Linked DNA regions of Homo sapiens: all the other regions are linked to region 3. The links are contacts of gene promoters, found by promoter capture Hi-C in human tissues and cell types (Jung and others, 2019). All regions are on one chromosome and are shown on one strand. Each heading gives the region's core, a stretch centred on a gene start or on the middle of the fragment in contact. The rest is flanking DNA. Distances are from core to core; before and after follow the strand shown. Region 1 overlaps FOXK2 (forkhead box K2). Region 2 overlaps TBCD (tubulin folding cofactor D). Region 3 holds the start of RAB40B (RAB40B, member RAS oncogene family).

What was found. The method cuts DNA at HindIII sites, captures the fragments that hold promoters and counts their contacts. A contact is called where the count stands out against the background at its distance.
Region 1: a fragment that was not itself captured here is called in contact with the fragment with the promoter of RAB40B in region 3 in 1 of the 25 tissues and cell types used here (dorsolateral prefrontal cortex).
Region 2: a fragment that was not itself captured here is called in contact with the fragment with the promoter of RAB40B in region 3 in 2 of the 25 tissues and cell types used here (small bowel and thymus).

Annotation. Positions count from the first base shown.
Region 1 is chr17:82,550,810-82,555,177 of GRCh38, forward strand. All of the region lies in intron 1 of FOXK2 (forkhead box K2), which reads left to right. Among named protein-coding and RNA genes, the nearest start is that of FOXK2, 33 kb to the left of the region's middle. RefSeq lists silencers at 1,064-1,358, 2,536-2,707 and an enhancer at 1,445-2,069. The HindIII fragment of the contact is 6,006 bases long and covers 1-4,368 here.
Region 2 is chr17:82,885,326-82,889,389 of GRCh38, forward strand. The region is part of intron 15 of TBCD (tubulin folding cofactor D); the gene reads left to right. Among named protein-coding and RNA genes, the nearest start is that of ZNF750, 47 kb to the left of the region's middle. RefSeq lists an enhancer at 1-554. The HindIII fragment of the contact is 6,882 bases long and covers 1-4,064 here.
Region 3 is chr17:82,696,039-82,700,027 of GRCh38, forward strand. It overlaps RAB40B (RAB40B, member RAS oncogene family), which reads right to left and starts at 2,660. Exons shown (of 6, transcript NM_006822.3): 1 at 2,417-2,660. The coding sequence starts at 2,558. RefSeq lists silencers at 2,389-2,818, 2,839-3,228. The HindIII fragment of the contact is 28,650 bases long and covers 1-3,989 here.

The sequences.
Region 1 (4,368 bases), core at 341-2,840, 150 kb before region 3:
TGGGCTTTGTGCAGCTGTGCTGGCCACACAAGCCTGAAACCGGCCTTGTCTGTATGGAAAAGTTCTGTGTCAAAACTAGGTGGTTTCTAAGTCACTGTGAAGCACTGCGTGCAGTAAGCGTGCGTCACTGAAAGATGACACTTGCAAGCCAGTACTGAGCCGGGTCGTTAGGTGTCAAAGCCTGTTTTAAGCTTCGGAGGCTTAGGTTAGAAGATTTGTGCTGAAAGGCCGGAAGTGGTGGCTCACGCCTGTCATCCCAGCACTTTGGGAGGCCGAGGCGGGCGGATCACAAGCTCAGGAGACTGAGACCATCCTGGCTAACACGGTGAAACCCCGTCTCTACTAAAAATCCAAAAAATTAGCCGGGCGTGGTGGCGGGCACCTGTAGTCCTAGCTACTCGGGAGGCTGAGGCAGGAGAATGGCGTGAACCTGGGAGGCGGAGTTTGCAGTGAGCTTAGATTGCACCTCTGCACTCCAGCCTGGGCGATAGAGCGAGACTCCATCTCAAAAAAAAAAATTAAAAAAAAAATAAAAATAAACATGATGGCATGTCATGAGTTTTGAAGGATAAGAAGTTAAAGCTGGCCAGGCACGGTGGCTCATGCCTGCAATCCCAGCACTTTGGGAGGTCAAGGCGGGTGGATCACCTGAGGTCAGGAGTTTGAGACCAGCCTGGCCATCATGGTGAAACCCTGTCTGTACTAAAAAAAATTACAAAAAATTAGCCAGGTGTGGGGACATGTGCTTGTAGTCTTAGCTACTTGGGAAACTGAGGCAGGAGACTCACTTGAACTTGAGAGATGGAGGTTGCAATGAGCTGAGATCACGCCACTGCATTCCAGCCTGGGCAACAGAGCGAGTCTATCTAAAAAATAAAAATAAAAAACATAAAAATTTGAGGCTGAGGTGATAGTTGCTGCTTGAGGTTTATTGCTGATGACAAAGTGTGGGCTATTTAGGGTTTCTAATGTATTTCTCATTGTCTTAAACGGTCTTCAGCTCTGTCAAGCTGTTTATTTGTAATTTATGTGCTTTAAGATGACACTTGCCACTCAGACCTCCTCCAAGGAGGGGCAGGGGAGCCCATTCCTGGGCCTGGCACGGTGCTCCACCTCCTGCACACCCCTTTCTGGGGCAGGTCCTTGGACTGTGGGGAAGCACCTGCTGCACTCTGGGTGGTGGCAGCCTTGGGCCCTGGGCTCCCCCTTGTGGAGTCCTCAGGGTGTGAGGCACCATAAAATTATTCAAAAAATGAAGTGGCTTCCAAACACTCTCCATGTCCGCACTCCCCTCGCGGTGGACCAAGGCACACGCTCCCAGCCTGGCCACAGGCCTAGACTAGTGTTGAGGTTTGCATTGGACATGTTGAAGGCTTACAAATGTTTTTCTTTTTCTTTTGAAATTACTTCAGAATTAAAGCAAAATTGCAAAAATAGTACAGAGAACTTCCGTTTTCCCAGATTCCCACTCCGTTAGTGTTTCACCAAACCCGCATGTTCAGTCTCTCTCCCTCTCCTTAAACATTCGAGGGGCAGTTGCAAAGGTGACGCTTTCCCTGCAGGCATCCTCTTCTGTGCCTGCCCTGGTGAGAACTGCTATGGCAACTGTGTCCTAATGGCCGACCTTCTCCAGGCTTCACCCACCGTCGCTCCTGCCCTTCACTGATAGGCCCTGTGTCACACTGAACCCTCCTGTCGCTTTAATCCTCTTCTATGTGTGGCCATCCTCAGCCTTTGTCTTCTGTGACATTGATATTTTTGAAGAGCACAGCATTAGTGATTTCGTCGAACGTCCCTCAGTTAGGATTTGTTGGATGTTTCCTCTTGATTAGATCTAGGTTAGTTACCTTTGGCAGGAACTCTAGAGGTGAAGTTGTGTCCTCTCAGGGCACCATGGCCGTGTTACCCTGGTGTCGTTTTGTGCCGTGGACAATGATGCTGGCTGTGAGCACTTGGCTGAGGTGGTTGAAGAGCAGCATCCCAAACAGGGCTCTGGAGTGCAGAGTGACCTCTGCAGCCACTCTGCTCAAGCGTCTCCGCGTGCTCTGCAAGGCTCCAAACCGGAGAGGTGCTCTGTAGGTCACCCCGTTACGTAAAATCACAGACTGGAAAGAGTTTGTTAGATTTTCTTTCTTTTTTATTTTTGGAGACAGTCTTGCTCTGTTGCCGAGGCTGCAGTGCAGTGACATGATCTCGGCTCATTGCAACCTCTGCCTCCTGAGTTCAAGCGATTCTCCTGCCTCAGCCTCCGGAGTAGCTGGGATTACAGTCACGCGCCACCACACCTGGCTGATTTTTGTATTTTTAGTAGAGATGGGGTTTCACTATGTTGGCCAGGCTGATCTCGAACTCCTGAGCTCAGGTGATCTGCCTGCCAAGGCCTCCCAAAGTGCTGGGATTACAGGCGTGAGCCACCGTGCCCAGCCAGACTTGTTTTTTAAACAGGCAGAAAGGAGCTCACCCATGGAGCATTTTTTCTGAGTCGCCTGAGTTATCTGTGTCACGGCAGAAAAGGACGTCAGGAGTCTGGGGGAAGCAGGGCCATCCTGGAGGCCACAGCCCAGGCAGGTGCCAAGGCCAAAGGCAGCTCTTCTGTGCTTGCCTCTCAGAGTGGGACTGCCTGGGACCAGACCTGCTGCTCCTGAGCTGTGTTGGCCCTGGCCTTGTCTCCTCTGCATGTCAAGGACACATGACCTGCTTGAATGGCAGGGGCTTTTGTTATGCAGGTTCCCAGCCATGCCGTCACTCCACAGAAGCACAAACATGGTTTTCGGGGACTTTGGATGTTTCTGGAGGGGTCTGACTCTGGGTCTGTGTTCATGAGATCCACATTCACAGGCGTGGCTGCGAAGAGGCCCCTAGACCTTGGGATGTGTGCTGAGCCCTTAAGACATGAACCACCACTAGAATCGGCTAAGCTCCAGGGACACAGCAGTTGCGCCTGTGGTGGAGATTGTCCCAGACGGACGTTTGTCCCGTTGCTGTGACGCAGATGGTGGATGGGCTGTGGGGCTGCTTTCAAGTACTTTTTTTTTTATTTCCCGAGATGGAGTCTTGCTCTGTTGCCAGGCTGGAGGGCAGTGGCGTGATCTCAGCTCACTGCAGTCTCCGCCTCCCAGGTTCATGCCATTCTCCTGCCTCAGTCTCCCGAGTATTTGGGACTACAGGCGCCCACCACCACGCCTGGGTAATTTTTGTATTTTTAGTAGAGATGGGGTTTCACCATGTTAGCCAGGATGGTCTCGAACTCCTGAGCTTGTGATCCGCCCACCTCGGCCTCCCAAAGTGCTGGGATTACAGGCGTGAGCCACCGGACGTGGCCTCAAGTACTTTTTTGAAACTGGTTGTAGGGAATAGTTTGACAAATCGGCTAGTTGGTTGAACTTGCTTTGCATAAAGAGACATCACTAAATATAACTCTCCTTAAAGTTGGGGACTTATTTAAATCTGATTCATTTCTGTGGGGCTGTATGATGTTGGTTAATACTGAAGTCTTGCAACAAAGTCTGGCTTTGTTCCTAAGGAACCTGTCTTTGGAGTCCTTAGAGCTTCTTCGTGAGTCTGTTAATTCATAAACTCCAGACCATTGGCCTGCACGTTGCATTTGTAATAATTTCCATTCCCACAAGAAACTAGAACAGGAGAATGAGAGAGCCAGGCTGGGAGAAGGATGTTTGCGACACTGAATCCAGTTTAAGTTGTTGGTTTGTTCAAGTGAAGGAAATGGAATTTTTATCAGGGCCCTCTGAACAGGTTTGAAACTTTACTTAGGGATTTGCCATTCTGCTTTCTGCCACCTAGTGTTCCTTTCCTGTAGTGCATCTCTTAACCTGTCCCTTCCTTCCATTTTTGGTCAGACGTCTCAGGCTTGTAAACAGATTCCTAGTCTATACTGAGCTTCATTACAAATCTTGCAGAATCCAGTGAGGTTTTTTTTTTTTTTCTTTTTTTCCAAGACAGAGTCTCGCTCTGTCGCCCAGGCTGGAGTGCAGTGGCTCGATCTGGGCTCACTGCAACCTCCGCCTCCCACGTTCAAGCAATTCTTCCTGCCTCAGCCTCCCAAGTAGCTGGGATTACAGGTGTGGGCCACCATGCCCGACTAATTTTTTTTTTGTTTTTAATAGTGGCAGCGTTTCACCATATTGGCCAGGCTGGGTTCGAACTCCTGACCTCAGGTGATCTGCCCGCCTCGGCCTCCCAAAGTGCTGGGATTACAGGCGTGAGCCACTGCTCCCAGCCCCAAATAAAGTACTTTTAGGAACACACAGTGCCAGGAATTGGGATAGGCTGACTGTATGAGACAGCCCCCTCATCAGCCTAGTGTCTTCCAGACACTTAAACTCCATCATTGACCCCAAGTGCTTCTGT
Region 2 (4,064 bases), core at 449-2,948, 190 kb after region 3:
GCTCAGATGATACCCTGAAGTCTTTCTAGCTCAAAATGTCTGTCATCTTCTATAGCTTCTGGTGGTCTGCCTGCTCTCTGTATCCTGAAGTAGTTAGAAGTCTTTCTCTGCCTCAGGTCCTTTAAAACTAGAGAGAATTCACCAGGAGAGCTCAGAAGCTCTTCTCTGTCCCTGAAGCTGCTCTTATTTTGTCTTCAGCATCAGTAAAAACCTCATAATTTTTTGGGGAAATCATCACATTTTTGCCCTGCTATTTACCCAAAGGCAGTAAATGTAAGACTTTGAAATATAATACAATTTTATGTTAAATCTGTACTTAAATTAAGCTTTTAGATTTTCTTTACTGCAACCTAAGACATTTCATGGGAAGCAGTAATAAAATTAAAGTACTTAGGCTTCTATGAACCCTGAATATGAAGTGAAATAATATAAATCATTTTTCACATTAAAATCCCTTTAAATTGGCAATAAATCTTTTCTGATAAATACCACCGAGTGCACCTAGCTTACCCTGTAGCTTGCAAAATTAAAACAGCCAAAGGTAAAAGACACCTTTTTGAAGCTTAGTTGGAAATGTGAGGATTGAGGGCCTCATAATTGGGAATCATTTTTTGGAGCTGCTGCTTTCAGATAACAATGTCTCGGTCTTTCTGGCTCAGCTTGGCTTCCTGTTTGACGCTGTGTCACTGGGTGAGGTCACCCCTGTGAGGCCCTGAGGCCTCTTCAGCACCGGCCAGGAGGCAGCAGCAAAAGGCGTTGAAGTCCTGTCCCTCCTTGGGGCTGGACACGGTCCCTTGCCCCTGAACTCTAGACGCCCTGCATTGCCCTGGTGCTCCCATGTCAAGACTGGCCGCGGTCGTCCATCCCATGGTTTGTGACCCTCCCAGCAACGCTGTGAGGAAGGTGCTGCAGCTGGTTCTCAGCATTGGCAGGAGCATGGCGACTCAGGCAGTCAGTGTGTGAGTGAGTTTGTGAAAACAGTTCCAGCTGTGTTCGTTGCTGAATGCTGGTTTTTCTGCATATTGGAAGGAATCTAGCAGACCCCCAAACGTGCTGACATTGCAAGAAGACATGTCTCCCGGCGGGGAAGGAATGGGCAGTAGAGATGGGGTGTGGTCGTGGCTTCTTGTTCATCATGAGGAAGGGAGATGGGGCCCCGTTCACTCACAGTTAAAGTAAAGGCACTTAAAGCCTACATTTAACTGAGAAGATTTTAAATCTTTTTCTTCCAGCATTTCGTTTGATACATAGTGTCTGACCTCTATTTGTGACTTTTTATTTTGGGATAATTGAGATTTATATGCAGTTTTCTCCCCTCCCCTCCCCTCCCCTCCCCTCCCCTCCCCTCCCCTCCCCTCCCCTCCCCTCCCCTCCCACTCTGTCACCCAGGCTGGAGTGCAGTGGTGCGATCTTGGCTTATTGCAACCTCGGCCTCCCGGGTTCAAGCAGTTCTCCTGCCTCAGCCTCCCGAGTAGCTGGGATTACAGGCGTGCACCACCATGCCCGGCTACTTTTTGTATTTTTAGTAGAGACGGGGTTTCACCATGTTGGCCAGGATGGTCTCGAACTCCTGACCTGAAGTGATCTGCCTGCCTCGGCTCCCAAAGTGCTGGGATTACAGACGTGAGCCACTGTGCCTGGCGGAGATTTACATGGAGTTTTAAAGACTAATGCAGGGAGAGCCCATGCGTGTTTCACCATTGCCTCCATGATGAAATCTGGCAAAACCGCAATGGAACATCACAGCCTAGAACATTGAGCCAACCCACCAGTCTTATTCCTTCTTCCTTGGTTTTACCTGTACTCTGTGTGTGTGTGTGTGTGTGTGTGTGTGTGTGTGTGTGCGCGCGCGCGCACGTGCGCTCACGCGTTTACTTCTGTGTGATTGTATCACATACAAATTCACGTATCCACCACCACAATCAGGATACACAGCAGCCCTGTCTTCCCGAGAGGCCTGTGCTACTGCTTTGCCCACAGTCCCTGCTGTTTCCCTCTCCTGACCCTTGGCAGCCACCGGTCGGCTCTCCGTTGCCTATTCTATTCTGTCATCTCGAGAATGCTGTGTAAATGGACTCTGTGGCCTCTAATGCTGTAGCTTTCTTCTCTCGGCACAGCTCTCTGGAGACCCACCCCGAGCGTGGTGGGTGGTGCTGGTTTGCTGCTTCTGTTGCTGAGTGGTGCCGTGGTTTGTGTGACCATTCATGTATTACGACATCAGGATGGTTTCTAGTCTTTAAGCTGCTGTAAACATTCGTGCTCAGGTTTTCGTGTGAGTGTAACTTCCATTTCTCTGGGTTAAATGCCAGGAGTAGTTTCTGGGTCGTGGTAGTTGGACATTTAAACTGCTTTCTAGAGCAGCTGCACCATTCACGTTCGCACCACCACCTGCCCGCAGCCCTGCCTTTCTCTGTCCTCGCTTGTGTCTGACATGGCCACTGTTTTCTGTGTCGGCCTTTTTGACAGGCATGTGGTGATACGTCGTTGTGGTCTTTACCTGCGTTTCTGTCATGCCTGATGGTGTGGAGCATCTTTCACGGGCTTACTTGCCGTCTGTACCTCCTCTTTGGTGAAATGTCTGCTCAGGTCTTTTACTCATTTCTAAGTGGATTGTTTTTTGTAGTTCTTGAGTTTAGGGCACTCTTTACATATGTAGGATTCTGGTCCTCTGTTGGATTTGCGTTTGGCTTTCTCCCAGTCTGTAGCTCATCTTTCCGTCCTCTTCATAGGGCAAGAGTTTTTAATTTTTTAATTTTGCTGGGGTCTCGATCAGTTTTTTGTTTTTGTGGCTCATGTTTTTAGTGCTTTTTAAGACGTGAAGACTTTCTTAAGGTCTGGGAACTCCACCTCGCCCGGTCCCGGGGATGCTGTCCCGTGTTTTCTGTTCTGCTGGTTGGTCTGCGTGTCTGTTCTGCCAGCGCACACTGTGTGACGGGCTGTGCTGCGATGCTGCTGTGCATAGTCAGCCTTCGCACTGGGCAGGGAGATGCCTCCCAGCGTCTTCTTTCTCAGGACTGTTTTCCCTGTTTTAGGGCTTGTGCTTTTCCACATAAATCTTGAATTTTTAAAACATCTTTTAGATACCACTGGAATGGTACATGTCTTCCTAATAGTGTATGTTAAATTGATGTTACAGTATATCTTTGTTGCATTGCCTTTTGGCGGGTTTTGTTTCTTACTTTCCTAATGAATTTATCACAAAAGTTACAAATTTGCAAAGCAGCAGTCAGGCCTCCTCCCAGCCTGCTGTGAAGCGCCTGTTTCCTCCAATCTCCAGCCCAGCCCAGGGGTCTGCCTTGGAGCCACCCGCACGTCTGGTTTCTGTGTGATTGGCCAGAGGTGGTGGGCGCGTCTGCTCCTTTTCCCTGGGGGGTGGGGGCACAGACCCTGGGTGGCTGTGTTCGGCTCCTTACTTGGTGCCCGTCTGTGTGTGCTCCTCCCAGCAGCCATCGCTCAACCTTGCTCTCAGGAAGCCCCCAGGCGAGTGTTGGCAGGAATCCTGCCAGGCGGGAGGTCGCTCCTCCAGAGCGTGGTCCCTGAAGCCGCCAGCCTCCCTGGCCTCGCCCCTTGCTGGTGGTGTGTGTGGTGTGGCCGTGGGTGCACTTTGCTGGGTCTTCCTGGGACACTGAAGTCTCCTGTGTCTCCAGCCCTGAGAACTCGGAGCCCGGGTGCTTTTGGGAAGGACGGGGCACCAGCTGGTGACACATGGGAAGGGAGGTGTGGTTGTCACCTTGCCCAGGTAACCTGCTCTGCCTGGTCGGTGCGCCTAAGGGGGGCAGGGTGTTTGGGGAGGACATGAGAGGCCTCCTGGAAGCACTTCATCCTGTTGAAGTTCACATTTTGACCTTTTCAGCAGCCCTTGCTCTGGGCCTGTGCCCGGCCCTGGGACTCGGCCTGGAGAGCCTATTGACACCGTGCCATGGGTGCGGGCAGGGCGCCCTCCCTGGAGGGCGGCACGTGGTGCCAGTTGGTGACCATGAGCTGCCTCACTCCTGAGGAAGAGTGTTCGGGCTCTGGGCTTTGATTTAACCTGCCTGTCTGTCTCTCTGAGTTGACAGCCGGGG
Region 3 (3,989 bases), core at 1,410-3,909:
TTTGTATTTATAGTAGAGACAGGGTTTCTCCATGTTGATCAGGCTGGTCTCGAACCCCTGACCTCAGGTGATCCGCCCGCCTTGGCCTCCCAAAGCCGGGATTACAGGTGTGAGCCACCGCCCCCGGCCCGGTGGGAGGTGTATTTTTAGCCTAAATCCTCCCTCCGTGTCAAGGGAAAGCCTTTATTACAAAGCATTGGACCATTGTTTTGGTTCGTCCTCAGTTCGGCATGTAGCAACCAAAAGTCACGCAGCAGAAGCATCCCCGAGCCTCCATTCAAACCAACCAGAAGGAAGTTTCACAAACATTCTGTGCGTGACCCTTCTCACACACGCCCCACGGCACTCACCTTCAATCAAACTCAACACTGTCAACCGTCTGCTCCCCCAAAACACGCACAGCTCTTAAAGCGCCATATTCGTCTGGGCGTACACGTTGTTGGGTGCTTTATTCCTGTAGCTCTGGTAGGGTTCATCCCTCACTGAGCCCAGACCCCGAGGGCACAGTGCAGACAAAGCCCTGTCCTCCAGGCGCTCAATCTCCAGCCCTGTCCTCCAGGCGCTCAATCTCCAGCCCTGTCCTCCAGGCGCTCAATCTCCAGCCCTGTCCTCCAGGCGCTCAATCTCCAGCCCTGTCCTCCAGGCGCTCAATCTCCAGCCCTGTCCTCCAGGCGCTCAATCTCCAGCCCTGTCCTCCAGGCGCTCAATCTCCAGCCCTGTCCTCCAGGCGCTCAATCTCCAGCCCTGTCCTCCAGGCGCTCAATCTCCAGGGCAGCGCTGGCCCTCGGACTTTGCCACAGCGACATCCGAACTATCTAGAAATGTGACGAATGGAAGCTTTTTGTTTTCTTTCCTTCTAATTACACTTCCACAGCCACACGTGGCTCATGGCATCCTACTGGACACCACGGTCCTAGAGACCTGCCACCGAGCGGGGAGGGGGGTAGGACATGCGGGGGCAGCGGCGCCTGGGGACAGGTAGAGACGCAGGCTCCCCTCCTGCCCCACGGAGCACACTCTGCACCCACCAGCTGCCAGAGACTCCCCCGCATGCTGCAGTTTCAGGAGGCCTCTGGGTGCTGGTCGTGAGCCCAAGCCCATCTCAGCTGCTCCCCCAAACTCTGCCCATTCCTCACCCCGTCCCCTAAGCTGAGGTGTGGCCGGGCACCTGAGTCCCACCCCACGCTCCACAGTCTCAGGCCACCCCCTCCAGCCGTGCCACACTCCCTTGGTGCTCACGCCGCCTGCCTGGAGCTGCCCTTAGGGGACAGCCTGCACCCTCTACCGAGCAGCCTCAGATCCCGCTTCCTCCCACCCTCTCCCGCTAAGTTCGTCTCTGGCAGGACCCTGGACCTGGGGCTTCCCAGACCCTTCCCAGGCCCCAGAGCTGACAGGTCCTTCCCACCAAGACTCCATCTCCACGCCCGGCTGCCCTCCTCCGCCCAGGACTCAGAGCGGGTCTCTGTTGGAAGCGTGGGTTCAGCCCCGAGGCGCGGCAGGAAGGTGGGCACAGGCTGGGCTCCTTCCACAGCCTCAGGGTCGGCCTCGTCCAAGCTGTTCCAGGGATGCGCGTGGGTGAAGGCCCCGCCTGCTCCTCACTCCCAGCCGAGGTGTTCGCCTCTGCGCGTTCCCCCTTCTCCTGGGTTCCTGCCCCCGCCTTTCTTTCCCCGGAGCCGTCCACCCCCTCGCCGGGCGCCGGCTTTCAAGCCTCAAACTTGGGGGATCCCCGGGCTGCCTGCCTGGGAGCTCTGGGCGCTCCGGCCTCCCCTCGCCCTGGAACCCGCTCTCCGGCCGCTGTCGTGGGGGGTCCCCTCTTCCGCACGCGAGTCACCTGTGCTCCTTCCTCTCCCCCGGACACGCGGGACCCCTGGCCTCGGGACCGGACCCTGGTCTCCCCTCCCCTCCGACCCACGCGCAGACCCAGCACCTGGGCGCCTGCTCGCCGCGCTCCGCCCCAGGAGCCCCGGAGCTCGCGTCCCCTCCCGCCCCTCCTGCCCCGCGGCCGAACGCGCACTTGCGGACTCGAGCCCCCGCCCCGGGTCCCCACAGCAGCGGCCCCAGGTCGGGAGGAGCCCAGCGCCCGGCCCAGCCGCGGGCTCCCGCTGCGCGCAGACTGCGGAGAAGGATGGAGACTGCGCCGCGGGGCCTCGAGTGGAACTGGGGGTGCAACAGGGACGCCGCAGCACGAGGGCCAGGGCCGGGCGGAGAAAGGCCCGCCCGCGAACCGCGCTCCTCCTCAGCCCCGCGCCCCCGGACCGGGACTCCTACCCTCCCCGGCCACGCGCCCCGGCCTCTTCCCGACCCCTGCCCGGTCTCGCGTCCCCGGACCCGGACCCCCACCCGCACCCCCTCCCCAGCCCCGCGCCCCTCCCCGGCCCCGCGCCCGCACCCCGGCACGCCCTCCGCCCGCGCTCACCCGCCGGGTGGCCGTACGGGGACTCGGCCGCGCCATCCTGCAGGCTCGCCAGGATCTCGCCCTTGCCCACGTCGCTGTCGCCCACCAGCAGGAACTTGAGCAGAAAGTCGTAGGCCCGGACCGGGCTGCCCAGGGCGCTCATCGTGACGGCCCGGCGCCCCCACCCATGCCCGGCCTGCGGGGCTGAGCGCAGAGGCGGCGGCCCGGCCCCGAGAGGCGCCGCGCGGGCCCCGAGTCCTTGCTCGCCTCCGGCCCCGCCCCGCCGCCCAGCGCTGACAGCGCGCATCCCCGCCCGGCCCCGCCATTGGTGGACCGCAGTTGCTAGGGCAGCTGCGCGCTTTCACTGGCTTGGTTGTCCGTCCATCTTACTCTCGTCACCGCCTCCGGGCTGTCGCCCACCCGCCCCTCCTGAAAGGTCGCTGTCACCACAGCCAATGGAGGCCCGGAGACGGGGCAGGGGCGGAGCCAGAACAAGCAGGAGGCGGGGACTCTGCTCCCGCAGCCAATGGCGGGGCGGGGTGGGGGCGATCAGGGGGTGGGGCCGGGTGTTTACACTCTCGCGTGCGCCCGTGAGCGCCACGAACTCGCTCCCACGGTCGTCGGGTCTGCACGCCCCGAGTCGGGAGGGGCGAGGGGCGGTGCAGGGTCCCAGCGTGGGGCCTCCCCACCTGCCCACCAGGGAGACCTCGGGTGCCTGGCCGGGTGGGGCTCGGGGTCGGTCCAGTTGGCGGACGCGGCCGGAAGGCCCCCGCAGGCCGCCTCGCCGGAGGAGTCCCTGTCGCCGTAGAATCCAGGCTCGCGGTCTCTCCCCACGGTTCATCCAGGGCCTCGTCGTTGCCCCATTTACGCGGCGTGCCTGAATGCCTGTGTGTGCACATGCGCCTGTGTACGTGTGCATGTGTTCGTGTGTGTGCATGTCTGCGTGTGCATGTGTGCCTCTGCAGATATCTGCACATGTATGTGTCTGCGTGTGCATGTGTCCCTCTGCAGGTGTCTGCACATCTATGTGTCTGCGTGTGCATGTGTCCCTCTGCAGGTGTCTGCACATGTATGTGCGTGTGCATGTGTCCCTCTGCAGATGTCTGCACATCTGTGTGTCTGCGTGTGCATGTGTGCCTCTGCAGGTGTCTGCACATGTATGTGCGTGTGCATGTGTGCCTTTGCAGGCATCTTTGCATGTGTGTGTCTGCGTGTGCTGCTTCTATGCATGCGCTCCTATGTGTGCGTGCGCTTGTTTGTGCATCCATGCATGTGTTTGCGTGCGTGCTGGAGGAGAGCATTGGGTGGGACCCTCCAGCCTTTTGGCTTCTCCTCTGCTCTAGAGAGCAAGGGTTGCCAGGCCGAGGTCTGCCCTTCGCTCTGAGGGTCTCACCAGGTGCACATTGGTTTATTTGGTGCAGAATTCAGGCAGCAGGCAAAGGGCGAGCTCCGTCCAAGAAGAAGGATAATGCCCCCACTACTTCATCCCCTCCACCCTGCGTTGTGTAGGGAACTGCTCTAGACCCCATTAGAAGTTTTTTGTGGGGGAGGAACAGAAGAGGGAGCGGAAGAAGAATTACAAAAGAGACTGAAG